Linked DNA regions of Homo sapiens: region 2 is linked to region 1. The links are contacts of gene promoters, found by promoter capture Hi-C in blood cells and fetal thymus (Javierre and others, 2016). All regions are on one chromosome and are shown on one strand. The core of a region is centred on a gene start or on the middle of the fragment in contact, and the rest is flanking DNA. Distances in the headings are between cores, read along the strand shown. Region 1 holds the start of GHITM (growth hormone inducible transmembrane protein). Region 2 overlaps TMEM254-AS1 (TMEM254 antisense RNA 1).

Region 1 (7,623 bases), core at 2,267-4,766:
AGTTTCAGGATTTATTACCATCAGTCACATTGGAGTTCAAAGTCCTTTCTCCTCTCCTGGGCCACAACTGGATTAGAAACATTTACATTAAACAGGAGGGGAAAAAGTGTAGCTTCTCTGTCCTTCCACTCTACCTCTTAGTCATTGCATTGTCATGCAGCTGCCGTTCAGCAAAATCTAAAGGGAGTAGTCCCCATGGCTTCATTGTCTTTCTGTGGCTGGCAGGATATAACTTTTGAAGTTGGCACAGTTTGATCTCTCACCCAAGCAGAGTCAAATGGCTCTGCCTTGTCATACACTAAATGGTCTGTTGGTGCCCATCTGGGCATCTCACCCACACATACTTCTAGTGTCGCCTCACTACTGAGCAGCATCTCGAAGGGTGCAAACAAGCAGGTGCGTGCTCACAATCACATTCTTGTGTTTATCTAGACCTTAGGGATTCCAAGGGAAAACAAGGCCAAGATGGGGAAGATCTTGTAACTTTCCTACCTGCTCTGTTGTCTGCCACTTAGCAACCACATGAGAAGCAGGTGCCAATTGGTCCCTACATTCAGAAACATCTGCAACCTTTCAGGAAGAAGCACCTTCCCTTTGTTGGGAGACTCCATCAGGGAGGGCAGAGGTTAAAGCCCCAGCAAACTCCCTTTCCAACTCTGTTTCATTCATACCACATCTTCTGATGGGAAAGCATAGTAGGGCAAGGTGAGAGCATTTATTTTAACTGAAAGTAAATAAAATATTTTATCTTTTGTCCTGGCTCTGAGTTTTCTCCACTATAATGCAGCATATCTCACTTAGCCAGCAAGTGGAGAATAAGGAATTCATCAGCAGACTGTAATAAAAACCGTGACATATATATAGTATTGGAATTTACGAATCATGTCTTTTCCTTTTTATTTACTTATTTATTCTTTTATTTTTTATTTTTTATTTTTTTGAAGTGGAGTCTCGCTCTGTTGCCCAGGCTGGAATGCAGTGGCACGATCTCGGCTCACTGCAAGCTCCACCTCCTGGGTTCATGCCATTCTCCTGCCTCAGCCTCCCGAGCAGCTGGGACTACAGGTGCCCACCGCCATGCTCTGCTAATTTTTTTTTTTTTTTTTTTTTTTTTTGGTATTTTTAGTAGAGACGGGGTTTCACCATGTTAGCCAGGATGGTCTCAATCTCCTGACCTTGTGATCTACCCGCCTCGGCCTCCCAAAGTGCTGGGATTACAGGCGTGAGCCACCACACACAGCCTACTTATTTATTTTTAAAGACAGCATCACCCTATGTTGCCCAGGCCGGCCTTAAGCTCCTGGGCTACCTCCCCAGTAACTGGGACTACATGCATGTGCCACCATTCCCGGCTTGTCCTTTTCTCTATCCTACACTCTAAGAACTTAGAAGCAGAGAACTTAACAATTAAACACTTCAAACTAAGTTTTATGTATCTACTTCCCCTCACTTGTATCTCTCCCTGTATCCTATTGCTAAATTAATGATAAAATTATCCACCCAGTTCAGAAGGATTACTCAGGGAGCCTTCCTCATTCTTATCAGCTATATTTGACCGACCATTCAATCCTGCAAACTCCACTTCAGCAATATATCTCTGTCATAAACCCCTCTGTGTCTTTCTACTGGCTTAATTCCAGCCTTTATTGCCTTTTGGTTGAACAACTACAATAAATTCCTAATTGGTCTCCTGGTCCATGGAACCTCTCCCTTCCTACACTGCCACAAGAGCATATATTTCCCAATGATATGACCAGATTCCTCCCCTGCTTCAAAATATTTGACCCCTGTGGAAACAACAATACAAGCCCTTTACTTGAGAAAGGAAAATATGAAATCAGACATTTTTCTTCCAATATGGAGAGAATAAGCTTTAATAGGAATCTTGAAGAAAGCTTGAGTCATTGACTTCAAGATCTTTATTCTGGTACTGTGTTGTAAATCCTTTCTCTTTGCTGATAACAGAAGCTCTAGAAAAAAAGACTATCACTGAAGGAGCCAAACAGAAAACCTATTTGCTAGCTAATAAAATTGGGCATAGATCAAAATAAAAATTAAACTGATCATGCTTGATCTGTTCAGTTTCGTGAGATTTCTCTAGTGTTTTCCTGCCATTTTCAGCGTAAAGAGATAAGAATTGTGTTGCTGCCAGACTCTTTTATTATCCACATAGAAGGCAAGTCTTTATATTTGTCAAGGTTTACATGATTAGGAATCATAAATCACAATTAACTACTGCTTAGGAGATAAAGGTTCATGAATTTTGCATGTTGTTAATCACCTTATCACCCTTTCAGGGTTTTAATCTGCTCTTTCTTCATGGTATTAAGTTATCACATTATATTTTTTCTATGTTCTGTCTCTACCAGAAAGTAAAGCCACAGAGCAAGGACTTTATTTTGTTAAAATAGTGGTAGCACACACGGGTTTAATTCATTTGCTGTTTTTTTGTTTTTGTTTTTTTGGTTTCTTTTTTTTTTGAGACTGAGTCTCCCTCTATCGCCCAGGCTGGAGTGCAGTTGCGGGATCTGGGCTCACTGGAACCTCCGCCTCCTGGGTTCAAGTGATTCTCCTGCCTTAGCTTCCCAAGTAGCTTAGATTACAGGCACCAATCACGCCTGGCAAATTTTTGTATTTTTAGTAGAGACAGGGTTTCCCCACGTTGGCCAGGCTGGTCTCGAACTCCTAACCTCAAGTGATCCACCCGCCGCGGCCTCCCAAAGTACTGGGATTACAGGCTTGAGCCACCACGCCCGGCTGATTCATTTGTATATATTTCTAGAACAGAGCTTGGTACGAAGTTGAGCATTCAGTAAATATCTGTTGAAATAGAGGGAGAGTGAAAAAGAAAGTAACTCTCTCGCGTATTCCACAACTAGCTCTTCACCTATCAAATTACGCGCAATGGAAACATCTTAGTCCTCAGAGCAATCCTGGGTGCAAGGCAGAGGCGGCTGTTATCAGGCCTATTACACAGGTTTAGGGTGAAACTTGAAAATGTGGGCGGGAAAGTCACAAAGCAATGAAAAAACCATCTAGAAAAAATCTTTTCTGGATGTCACCATCTAACATTTGGCATGAGACCCCAGAAACCGGATGACTCGGCTCAGAAGCAGACACATTTGAAAAGATATTTATCTCACGATAAATTAAGGGACAAAAAGGCCTTCAAAAAGGAACGGAATAAACGGAATAATTTTTAACTCTAACATTACTTTCTTTCAATTTTTACATAATTCTTATAGCTGCGGCGAGTGAAACGACTAAAACAAAAGCAAAACAGAGCTCCACTGCCCAAAACAAAGATGGCCGAGACGACTCCCATGCCCACACGCAAAATGGACGCTGACTATGACGTTCCCTGCAACAATCCTCAACTGGCCCCGCCCCACCAATTTGGAACCCCGCCTCCTCAACCCGGAACCCCGCCTCCCCCAGTGTGGCCGCTTTTCCGACAGAGGCCTGCCCGTGATTGGCTGCTCGTACTATTTACGTCCTTTCGATGTTGCGTCATGCAGTGCGCCGGAGGAACTGTGCTCTTTGAGGCCGACGCTAGGGGCCCGGAAGGGAAACTGCGAGGCGAAGGTGACCGGGGACCGAGGTACTGCTCCGGCTGGCCGGCGGGCGCCCGGGATCCCCGGTGGTCCTGACAGCCGCCCTCACGGGACCGCTGGGTGCGGGGGGAAGGGCTGGAAGCAGCGGTGCTGCTGGCTGCGTCAGGGCCGGCCTGCGCGTTGGGGTCGCAGTCCTGTGGGTGACCTGGTGGAGAGGGCGGCGGCACAAGGCCCTGGTCAGGCGGGCAAGGGCTCAGTGTAGCTGTGCTTCTGTCCTCGGGCAACAAGGTGCTGAGTCATCCTTGCGGCGAGGCCGTACAGCCGCTGCGCTGGTAGCGGCACCTGGGGCAGGGGCAGAGGTGTTGTGGGTTGACAGGGAAGTTTGCTGCCGGGTTCTCATCTGAATCTAGCGGGCTGGGTGAACTTTCTCGGGGACCAGGCACCCAAACTCATCAATGCTCACGGAGGCATAAGCCCTTGGATTAGGGTCGGTAGTATTTTCCCCATTTTATAGCAACGACATCTGAGTCTTAGAGATCCACACTCCTCACAAGGTCACTTCTAACCTGTCAGAAGCGGGATTCCCACTCTGGGCTGTTACGCCACATGGAGGTCACTCTGAGCTGGACCTCTTCGGCCCCAACCAGTGGACTGAGTACTGAGGAAGATACAGGACAGCCATAGGTTGAGATGATGTAATGGCACGAAAGTTCCAAAAGCGCTGGGTGTTTTCCCAAAGGCCGGGTGCCGAATTTTAAGACCCTTAATAGTTCAGTTGCAGAGCTCGGAGGACGCTCGGGTATCTTAAAGCAATAGTTCTTAGCTTTTGGAGTGTTCGTTAAAACACACGTTCTTGGTCTTATTCCTAGGGGTAGAATCATTAGGAGCAAAGAAAGACCCAGGAGCCTACATTTTAAGATGCATCCGGGGCACTTTCAAGCAGGTAGTCTAAGGGTCAACGCTGTAGTCTGAACACGGAATCCTTATGTTACAGATGGGGAAATGGGCCCAGAAGTATATCACTTGCCTAGAATTCACTACAAATCATTGGCAGAGATGGGCTGGTAGCCCCAGTTGGTTTACACTCGTCATTTCATTCTGACCTATTGTAGTCACCTCACCTTAGCATTACAGAAACACTGTCTGCTGACTTCTGGTTGACCACCCATCTAGTATAATGTGCCCTGGAGCTAAGATAATCCAGTTTTTAGCATGCTTTTCTTTTGAAGACACCATCGAGGGAGTCTAATGTAAGGGAAACCTGGTTGGTAACTGAGTTTACTTGTTTACTTTGAAAGACTAAATGTCCTTTACGCATTATAGTAGGACATATAGAATAGGTTAACTTAGAATATTTTTATATCTCATGTTGAAGGAAAGTAATATTTGGTATGATTAGCTGAAATTCATATAGTTGGCTTCTTTTAATACCTTTTAGCTTTGTAATGCAGTATAACCTTGAAGAGCTATTCATGTCTTCTTTGGATGACACTATTCCTTTGCCCAAAAGTTATGTAGATTCTTTTAAATTTTCCCACTGGATGCTGGTATAAATCTTAAGCCAAAACTACATTTGTAAAAACCATCACAGACTCTGTAATCACGTCCAGTTATTAACAGCCGTTCTGTGTTACACATAATTTTTGCAGTCATCTATTTTGATTGGTCAAACTGGGACTTAAACCTAGTTTGTTCCTCCATCTTCAGCTGTGTTCTCTGGGATGGGTTTCTTGCATTACAGTGGATGGTTGGGCAAAGAATTCATCGCTGAAAATTAAAAAGGTCGCTTTATTTCCTGTTCTACTAAAAAATAGTTTGTTCCTTGACTCTGACTCTCATATGTCCTTCTCTTAATTGGTTAGTAGGTTGTTTTACTTATGTTTTTTTGGTTGGTTTTGCCTTTTTTTTAAACTAGCATTTCAGATCTGCTCGGTAGACCTGGTGCACCACCACCATGTTGGCTGCAAGGCTGGTGTGTCTCCGGACACTACCTTCTAGGGTTTTCCACCCAGCTTTCACCAAGGCCTCCCCTGTTGTGAAGAATTCCATCACGAAGAATCAATGGCTGTTAACACCTAGCAGGGTAAAGATAATCTGAATGTTTTTATATTGCTTCTTTTTCCATTTGTGCCCTTTCTTTTTGGCAGAGTATGGCTGCTCTGCCTTTAGTGTGTTATACGTCAGTTAGCCCTGATAATATCCCCAATCAGCTCTTTCTCCCCATTAGTTTGTATCATTCTGGTCCCTCCTTATCCCATATGAAATAGAAAATGAGTTTCTGTAACTCTGTCTTCGCTTACAGCTTCTGGAGTTTCTCATTTAGAAAATTTAGAGTACATTGTGAGGGATTGAGAGTTACATAGTGTAACGGAGATCCTGGAGCACATAGTCAGAAGTTTAAGAACCCAGGGATATTACCAGTTGGCCAATAGCTTATTAATAAATTACTAAATATATTATCTCTTATTTAGAGGTTGATAATATCTGTCAGGTTAGAAAGAAACCCATTTTTATAATAGATTTATCTTCTGGCATTCAGATTATAAGGTTTGAAGTGTGAGGTAATGAGGACAATATAAAGAAGCTAGGAGACATTTTCTCTTTTAAATTAACTGTTCCACTGTTGAAAAAGAGCCACAATGGAAGTAGTAGTCTTCCCTCTTCTTGGCTTCATGTTAAGGAAAGATGCTGTTCTTGAGTCCATATCCCAGATGACAAAATATAGCTAATAATGCTTGTAGAATGCATATCTTAAAAATGCTAACAGATTCTCACCCTGGTATTTGGTTAGGATTTAAAATATAACAATTCTAGGTATGTAAATCTATAGTTTGTGAAAGAAACAATTTTTCTGAAATTGAAACTAAGAATAATATAATGAATTACTAACTTCCAAAGGTGGAGCACAGGGAAGGTCTACATTTATTTATTTATTTTTACATTTAGTTTTTTAAGTTGGCTAATAAATTTCCATAGTGAAGTTAGGTATATAGAAAGTACCAAGTTTCTTTAACTAGAGTTTTCTAGTGTAAAGGGATCTTGCATTTTATTTTATTAACGTTCTGTTTTCATGTGGGTGGTACGTGTCTTTGTTTGCATGTGTGTCAGGAATATGCCACCAAAACAAGAATTGGGATCCGGCGTGGGAGAACTGGCCAAGAACTCAAAGAGGCAGCATTGGAACCATCGATGGAAAAAATATTTAAAAGTAGGTGGCTATCTTTAGTTTTTAACCTAGAATCTATGGATATGTTTTAAGAGGTCCATGAACAACTTCCTAAAAATATATGTGTATTTGTGCATTTTCTGGGAAGACCACATTATTATTCTGAGATCTGACGACCCAGAAAAGATTGGTACTTTGCACTGGATTCAGTGGTTATCAATCATATTTCTTCCAGTGGAAATTTTACTTTCCTTTTTTTTAAAGAAAAGGATTATTAATATGCCATGGTCCAAAAGGTATACTCTGTTGAGAAAGTTCATTTTAAGTGTGTAGAATCCTCATTCAAGCATATAATATTTGTGTATGTTTCAGATTAAGAATAAATCACCAACACATAGATGTTAATAAAAGCCTAGCTGTCCAAGAAGAATCCTTTAACTCACTGCTCACATAGGGCCTCAGGAGGGCAGTACTTTAATATATTGCCAGTTTGGTTCAGTTTGGATATCAACTTTGCAAGTTCAGAAACTAGATTGTTAATCATCCTAAAGCTATTCAAAGAATACCACTGCTCCTTAATAATCTTGCAAAATGTCTTTACAGTGGGAGAGAGCCCTAATCAGTATCCTTCAGGTCATTTCTTTCTGATTTGACCCTAGAGACCAAATCATGCAAATTATGTAGTGACAGCCTAGTAATATTCTTAGTAAACGAATTAGACTAAAAGAATAAGATGCCCTTTATGAATACCTCTATTGAGTTAGAGTTGATTAGTTGCCTCTCAGTACCCTAAAACGGGAGCCTCCTCTCACTTGATTCTGCTGCATAAACACTGATTATATTTTCTCTTTTTTCTTGATTTCCACGTAAAGCATCATTTGTGTTAATACCATGCAGTATGGT
Region 2 (7,623 bases), core at 3,729-6,228, 4.1 Mb before region 1:
TCGGCTCACTGCAACCTGCACCTCCTGGGTTCAAGCAATTATCTGCCTCAGCCTTTTGAGTAGCTGGGATTATAGGCACCCGCCACTACACCTGGCTAATTTTTGTACTTTTAGTAGAGACAGGGTTTCACCATCTTGGCCGGGCTGGCCTTGAACTCCTGAACTCATGATCCACCCGCCTCAGCCTCTCAAAGTGCTGGGATTACAGGTGTGAGCCACCACATCTGCCATATTTACCTTTTAATAAGAATATTTTTAAAAAGTTTTCCTATAATTTTTAAATTGTAAATTACCCAGATATTCAATTAATACCTATTATTTAATATGACTTTAGATTCTAAATTTTATGACAAGTTTGTTTATAAGCATTTAGTCTATACATTTACTTGATTATCTAATAGTTTACCTAGGTTATTTATGAAAACAGTGATAGTCATCACTTCAAGTTAATTCTCTGTTAATTATTTTTATAGCTGTGAATTTCAGGTGTTTACTTAAGTAAGAAGCTTAAGGTTTAATATAAGGGTGTTTTTACCAATAACTCAGGATTTAGCTGTTTTCATTAAACCAACAATGTTTTGTGTCTTATTTATCAAAAATTATACAAGCAAAGATCATTCAGTTTTGGGCTGGGTTTTATAGTTTTATAACTCTTATGGTAAATCTTATAGCATTCTGCAGGAATAAAGCATGAAACCACTTGATCAATAAATGCAAACAAAAATACTAACAATTCTTAAGACATTTCTAGTATTATTTTACCAACAATTTTAAAGCAAGCTTATTTATTAAAGATTTTACTTAAGTCACATGTGATACAGAAGGGCTGGGCTCAGGGCTAAACCCCACCATTCAGCCTGGACCACGGCCCTAAGGGAAAACAGCTGACCCTGTTTTTCCACCTAAATAATGCCTTTTTGGCCTGCCACACCCCTATCCTGTGCCCATAAAAAGACTTCAGTTGCTAAAGAAAAAATAAAAATAAAAATAAACAGGAAAGAAAAAAACAAAGAAAAGAAAAAAAGATTTCAACTGGCAGAGCAACACAAGCAGCTGAGTGGTGGGAATACAAGTGGCTGAGTGGCAAGCAGAGAAGCAACTGAACATTCGAGACTATGGATAGACACGACAAACTTCAGATAGTGCGGCTTCAGAGAGCGGCCCAGCCAGAGACAGCCAGGCTTCAGGGAAAGATCACCTTCTTCCCACATCATTGCCTTTTCACCTCCGCATCCCGATGAGAGCCACTTCCATTACCCAGTAAAATCCTCCTTATACACTACCCTTCAATCCATTTGTGTGACCTGGATGTCAGACAAGAACCCAAGTGCCTAGAGGACAGCTGCTGCCACCCTGACCCTCCACTGAGCTAGCTGGCACTTGGCCATCTCTGGACAGCAGAGCTGAAAGAGCATTGATTGTAATATACTTGGATGCTGCTGCGGGGCCCACACAGAGCCTGCTCCTGCCAGAGAGGAGCAACTAGCCAGTTCCAGCATTTGTTCGCTCCAGTTCCTGCACTCACTAGCATGCATGATCCCTCTTGCAAGGAGTGGACAGCTGCTGGCTCAATGAAACCAGCCACTCCAGTTCCCACCCATGAAAGGGGTCAAGGGAATTATCCCATCTCACATGAACTTGAAAAACATTTGACTAGTCTTTTTTTTTTTTTGATAAAGTATTTGATTTAAGCACTTTCATTTTTCTTTAAACCACTTAATGCAAGCTCTTTTATATCTTTTTAGTAGTAAAATATTATATACACAACACAGAAATACATAGACATATTAGGCATACCAATAGAAGTACAGCTTACAGATTCATAAGACCTATTTTTTTTTCCTTAGACTTTTAAATTCTTGATAACCCATTTTATTACCCTAGGCAGTTTTAGCTAAAGTACTAAATTTGCATATTAAAGGAAACAACTCAAGTGAAAAATCAATTAGCAAAATTTACATCTCAAGAGGAAAAGTCAGGTGTGCTAGAGTGAAGTTAAAATGAATTTAATTACCAATTAAAATTATATAAATCTACTATAAAAGCCTTTTAAATATATATACACACACATATACACACATACACACAAAAAATCCCATAGCTTTTACTTCTGAACTTTAGTCATGAGATAAATACAAATGCACTGGGTTGAAAAAAAAAAAAAGTTTAGATCAAAAAGTGGTTTTAGGCCAGGCACTGTGACTCATGCCTGTAATCCCAGCACTTTGGGAGGCCAAGGCGGTGGACCACCTGAGGTCAGGAGTTTGAGACAAGCCTGGCCAACATGGCAAAACCCCGTCTCTGCTAAAAATAAAAAAAATAGCCAGGCGTGGTGGTGGATGCCTGTAATCTCAGCTACTCGGGAGGCTGAGGAAGGAGAATCACTTAAACCCAGGAGGTGGAGGTTGCAGTGAGCTGAGACCGTGCCACTGCACTCTAGCCTGCATGATGGAGTGAGACTCCATCTCAAAAAAAAAAAAAACCAGTGATTTTTAATCTCAATAGAAAAGTAACAGCAGATGTAAGTCAGACAGAAAAGAAAACAAAGAAAAGGAGAACTTAGGAACTCTATAGTTTGCAGGTCAACCTTAGGTCTCTTTTTCCTTAATGTAAATGTGCACAAACACCATAATACTTCAATTTCACATAAACTCTAGTAAGTAGAGCCACCATAATACTGATGGAGTGCCCAAAGGGGGTCATTCTCCTTGTTTTCTCCTCATACTTAGATTATTTGTTTCCCAGTATTTTTTAAAGGAGGAACTGAGCTGTGGCCTAGGGCTTTTGTGGAATGGGTGGAAGTGTGCTGGTTGCAGGCAGGACTCCACGGTGTCACCCCTGAGTCATCGTTGCCCTCTTATGTGTCTCAATTTCTCTCTCTGAAGCTCTAGCACCTCTCAGAGGGCTCAAAACCTGGAGCTCCCATACGTGCTTCCTGGATGAGCCTTTTTAAAACTAATTTTGTTGGGGGTTCCCTGTAGGGCTGCTGCGCTACATGTCATGATGGGTGGGTGAACCTCACAGACACTCCCACAAGGCCCCTGGTCACCCAGGGGTGCCTTTCAGCTGGGAGGAGTAAAATGCCCTTTCTCTTTGGAGCTAAGGAAACTCAGACTCTCATTTACCTACGAAAGCAACAGTTCAGTTTCTCATTCCATATCTTATTTATCAAAAATTGTACAAGAGAAGATTATTTGTTTTCTTTTTTTTTGTTTTTTGTTTTTTGTTTTTTTTTTTGAGACAGAGTCTTGCTGTGTCCCCCAGGCTGGAGTGCAGTGGTGCAATCTCGGCTCACTGCAAGCTCCACCTCCTGGGTTCACACCATTCTCCTACCTCAGCCTCCCAAGTAGCTGGGACTACAGGCGCCCACCACCATGCCCGGCTAATTTTGGTATTTTTAGTAGAGACGGAGTTTCACTGCGTTAGCCAGGATGGTCTTGATCTCCTGACCTCGTGATCTGGCCGCCTCGGCCTCCCAAAGTGCTGGCATTACAGGCGTGAGCCAGCGTGCCCAGCCGAAGATTATTCTTTTTTAAAAAATCTAGGTAGATGTTTAATTTCCTGGTTGACAGTTGTTATTGTATTTTTTATTTTTATTGATTTATTTATTTAGAGACAGGAACTCACTCTGTCACCCAGGCTGGAGTGCAGTGGCATGATCTCAGCTCACTGCAACCTCTCCCTCCCAGATTCAAGTGATCCTCCCACCTCAGCCTTCCAAGTAGCTGGCACTACAGGCATGCACCAGCACACCTGGCTAATTTTTGCATTTTTAGTAGAGATGGGGTTTCACCATGTTGGCCAGGCTGGCCTCAAACTCCTGGTTTCAAGTGATCTGCCCACCTCGGCCACTCAAACTGCTGGGATTACAGACATAAACCACCACACGCAGCCCTGGTTGACAATTGGTTGAGTTTATCTAAATACCTGGGATCAAGAGAAAGGAATATCTGGGTTAAGGATTGTGGAGACTCAAGTTCTTATTTGCAGAGGAAGCTTTCAGGTAGTAGGCTTCAGAGAGAACAGGTTGTAAAATGTTTCTTATCAGACTTACAGTCTATGTTGATGTCAATGCCAGAAAGGTATAATGAGGCATGTCTGACTCCCACTTTCAGTCATGGCCTGAACCAGTCTCTCAGGTTACATTTTAAAAGAGCCCTGGCTGAGAAGAAAGTCCATTCAGATAGTTAGGGGGGGGCCTTAGAATATTATTTTTGGTTTATATTCATATTTCCAGAGCCTAGCACCATAACTGACACTACACTGGTCTTCAGAAATTAAATTTTATTACTATTTTATTTTATTTTATTATTTTTGAGATGGAGTCTTGCTTTGTCACCAGGCTGGAGTGCAGTGACGCAATCTTGGCTCACTGCAACCTGTGCCTCCCGGGTTCAAGTGATTCTCCCGCCTCAGCCTCCTGAGTAGCTGGGACTACAGGCACGCGCCACCACACCCAGCTAATTTTTGTATTTTTAGTAGAGGCGGGGTTTCACCACATTGGCCAGGATGGTCTCCATCTCTTGACCTCATGATCCGCCCGCCTCAGCCTCCCAAAGTCCTGGGATTACAGGCGTGAGCCACCGCGCCCAGCCGGTCTTCAGAAATATTTCTTGACTATTTGAGTGAATGATTCCTTGGTTTCCCTACCTAAAAAATGTAGCATTTTCCTTCTCCATTCTCATTATACTGTTTCAATAATTTTTCTTCTTCTCCTCCTTCCTTCCTTCCAATTTTACCTCCATCCAATGTACACAAGATATGTTCACTCCACTAGTTAAAACAAACAGAGCAGGTATGGTTGCTCATGCCTGTAATCCCAGCATTTTGGGAGGCCAAGGTGGGAGGATAGCTTGCGCTCAGGAGTTCAAAACCAGCCTGGGCTACATAGCGAGACCCTATCTCTATTAAAAATAATAATAATAATAATAATAATAATAATAATAATAATAATTAGCTCAGCATGGTGGCCCAAGCCTGACCTGTAGTCCCAGCAGTTTGGGAGGCTGAGGCAGGAGGATCACTTGAGCCCAGGAGTTCAAGACCAGCTGGGCAACATAGGGAGACTCGTCTCTACAAATAATAAATACATTAATTAAATAAAACAAACAGAATTTCACTGACTCACCTTGGCTAAGGGATCAAATCAAAACCCCTCGGTTTGATACCAAATGCCATTCATGATCAGGACTCCACCTGTCTTTGCAGCCTCAACTTCCTTCACTCAATTTCTTCACATTGTTTTTTTCTAGCAACAAAAAATTTCTCCTAATTCCCTGGACACACAATATTCTATTCAAATTTCTGTAAATTTGTTTAGGTCGCCCTTCCCCCATCCTATAATCCTGGGAAGGTGTGGGAGTTTTTTGCTGTATCTCAGCACTTGTCCATCCTATAGCCACCTCATCATAACTCCCCAAGGAGGACTACTTATTAATACCTCTGTATCTCTTGATACTGCATCATTTGTGTATTTGTGTTTGGGAGTGGACAGTATTATTTAAAATATTTTTTCTGGAATAGATAACTAATTGCCCCAAAATAATTTACTGAATAATCCATTATTCCTTCCTTAATTTGAAATGTTACCTTTATTATAAAATAAACGCTTGGATATGTATATACCAGATCCATGTCTGGAGTCTGCATTATTTTTTCATTGATCCATTTGTTGATTTCTGCATGTCAAGTGCCAAATGTTTTACATTATTATAGCTCTTTACAGTGTGTCTTGATATCTAGTAGGCCAATCTTATGAGGAAAAACAATGTTATTTTTGCTTTATTTTGCGTATCCCATAGGGCCATTAAGATTGAACCATCCTTTCATTTTGCTTGGTCTCAAGTTTTCTCTTTTGAGGATGCCCAATTCATATCCTTTAATCATTTGTCAATTACATATATTGGAGAATTCCTTCTTCCAGGTATTTCAACTTTATTTACAGTGTCATTCATATGAATGAAGCTTTTCATCTGGATGCAGTTAAATTTTCAATCTTTCCTTCTATGGCTTTTAATTTTAATAACTTGCTAAAAGGTTTCCTTCCCCTCCCTCAAAAGTTGTAAAACTATTCTCCCAGACTTTCTTCATTATTTTTCATATTTAGGTCACTAATCCATCTAGACAGGGGGATAAAAATGTCCAGGGATGAGATATTTCTCTGCCAATTCAGATGGGACAGCAGTGTAGGGTGCCTGGACCTTAGAGAATTCAGTCACCCCTGCCGTGTGTGAAGGGTGACTGTAATGAAGAAAGGAATGCCTTCTGAACATCCAGTTGACTGTAAGTTCTTCATGAATTTACATAAACTACTCACATCTGAACAAAGATCTTCTGGTACTGTCTTCTGGATTCCTTATCTGTGCGTGAGGGGCTAACAGTAAGATGTTTAGTGTTGAGCTGTTGGTGGCCAGGTACAGCCTCTAACTATAATCCCAGCACTTTGGGAGGCTGAGGTGGAAGGATTACTTAAGGCTGGGAGTTTGAGATCTGCCTGGGCAACATAGTGAAGCACCGTCTCTATTAAAAAAAAAAAAAATAGTGTGGAGTTGGAAGACATAGGACACTAAGTAACAGGCTGGGCTCCAAGCAGGGTTGTAGAAGACATGAAACTAAAACCTAGCTCCCTGTAGTCTGTTGACTGAAGCCATTTTGCCTCTCCAACATTTCTTGTAGCATGAATAATTTCTCCAATATCTCCCTCGTTGCAGATTTAATACCTAAATAGAAATACTGAAAAACGGCAGCCTAAAATTGGGGAAGTTCTTGAAACTTTTGGTAAGGTAGGCTGGGTATGGTGGCTCACACCTGTAATCTCAGCACTTGGGGAAGCCAAGGCAGGTGGATCACCTGAGGTCAGGAGTTTGAGACCAGCCTGGTCAACATGGCGAAACCCCATCTCTACTAAAAATACAAAAAATTAGCTGGGTGTGGTGGCATGTGACTGTAGTCCCAGCTACTAGAGAGAGTGTGGCAGGAGAATCACTTGAACCCAGAAGGCCAAGGTTGCAGTGAGCTGAGATTGCGCCATTGCACTACAATCTGAGCAATAGAGTGAGACTCTGTCTCAAAAAAAAAAAAAAGTTTTGGTATGGTAAAGGCTTGATCAGAACTGTACTTGAAAAAGATGATCCTGTTATTTGTCAGACAGATTCAATAAAGGGACTGCATGTGGGCTGAAGTGGCAGGAAGTAGGAAGGAGTGACTGACTCATGAGACAGTGGAGATGAAGCCATGATTTAATCTAGAAGGATTAGATATTGTATTACCCAATCAGTAGAACTCTTGACAGCTGATTAGTCTGCAATCTTTATATGATATGGGGGAAGTCAAAGCAAGGAATCTGGGTACAAGGTAGAAAGAAAGTGCTGTTCACATAGAGTAGGCCGGGCGAGGTGGCTCATACTTGTAATCCCAACACTTTGGGAGGCCGAGGCAGGCAGATCACCTGAGGTCAGGAGTTCGAGACCAGCCTGGCCAACATGGTGAAACCCCGTCTCCACAATTAGCCAAGCGTGGTGGTGCACACCTGTAATCCAAGCTACTCAGGAGGCTGAGACAGGGGAATCACTTGAAGTGGGGAGGCAGAGGTTGCAGTGAGCCGAGATCGCAACACTGCACTCC

What was found. Contacts are between HindIII fragments. The CHiCAGO score rates a contact against its expected background, and 5 or more counts as called.
Region 2: a contact is called between a fragment that was not itself captured here and the fragment with the promoter of GHITM in region 1, in 1 of 17 cell types (naive CD8 T cells). The highest score is 7.3, in naive CD8 T cells.

Annotation. Positions count from the first base shown.
Region 1 is chr10:84,135,993-84,143,615 of GRCh38, forward strand. GHITM (growth hormone inducible transmembrane protein) reads left to right here and starts at 3,517. Exons shown (of 9, transcript NM_014394.3): 1 at 3,517-3,601; 2 at 5,470-5,637; 3 at 6,663-6,762. The coding sequence starts at 5,509. RefSeq lists enhancers at 2,885-3,454, 3,455-4,024 and a silencer at 3,598-3,797. The HindIII fragment of the contact is 9,095 bases long and covers 1,894-7,623 here.
Region 2 is chr10:80,068,827-80,076,449 of GRCh38, forward strand. The region is part of intron 1 of TMEM254-AS1 (TMEM254 antisense RNA 1); the gene reads right to left. Among named protein-coding and RNA genes, the nearest start is that of TMEM254, 6.0 kb to the right of the region's middle. The HindIII fragment of the contact is 1,968 bases long and covers 3,995-5,962 here.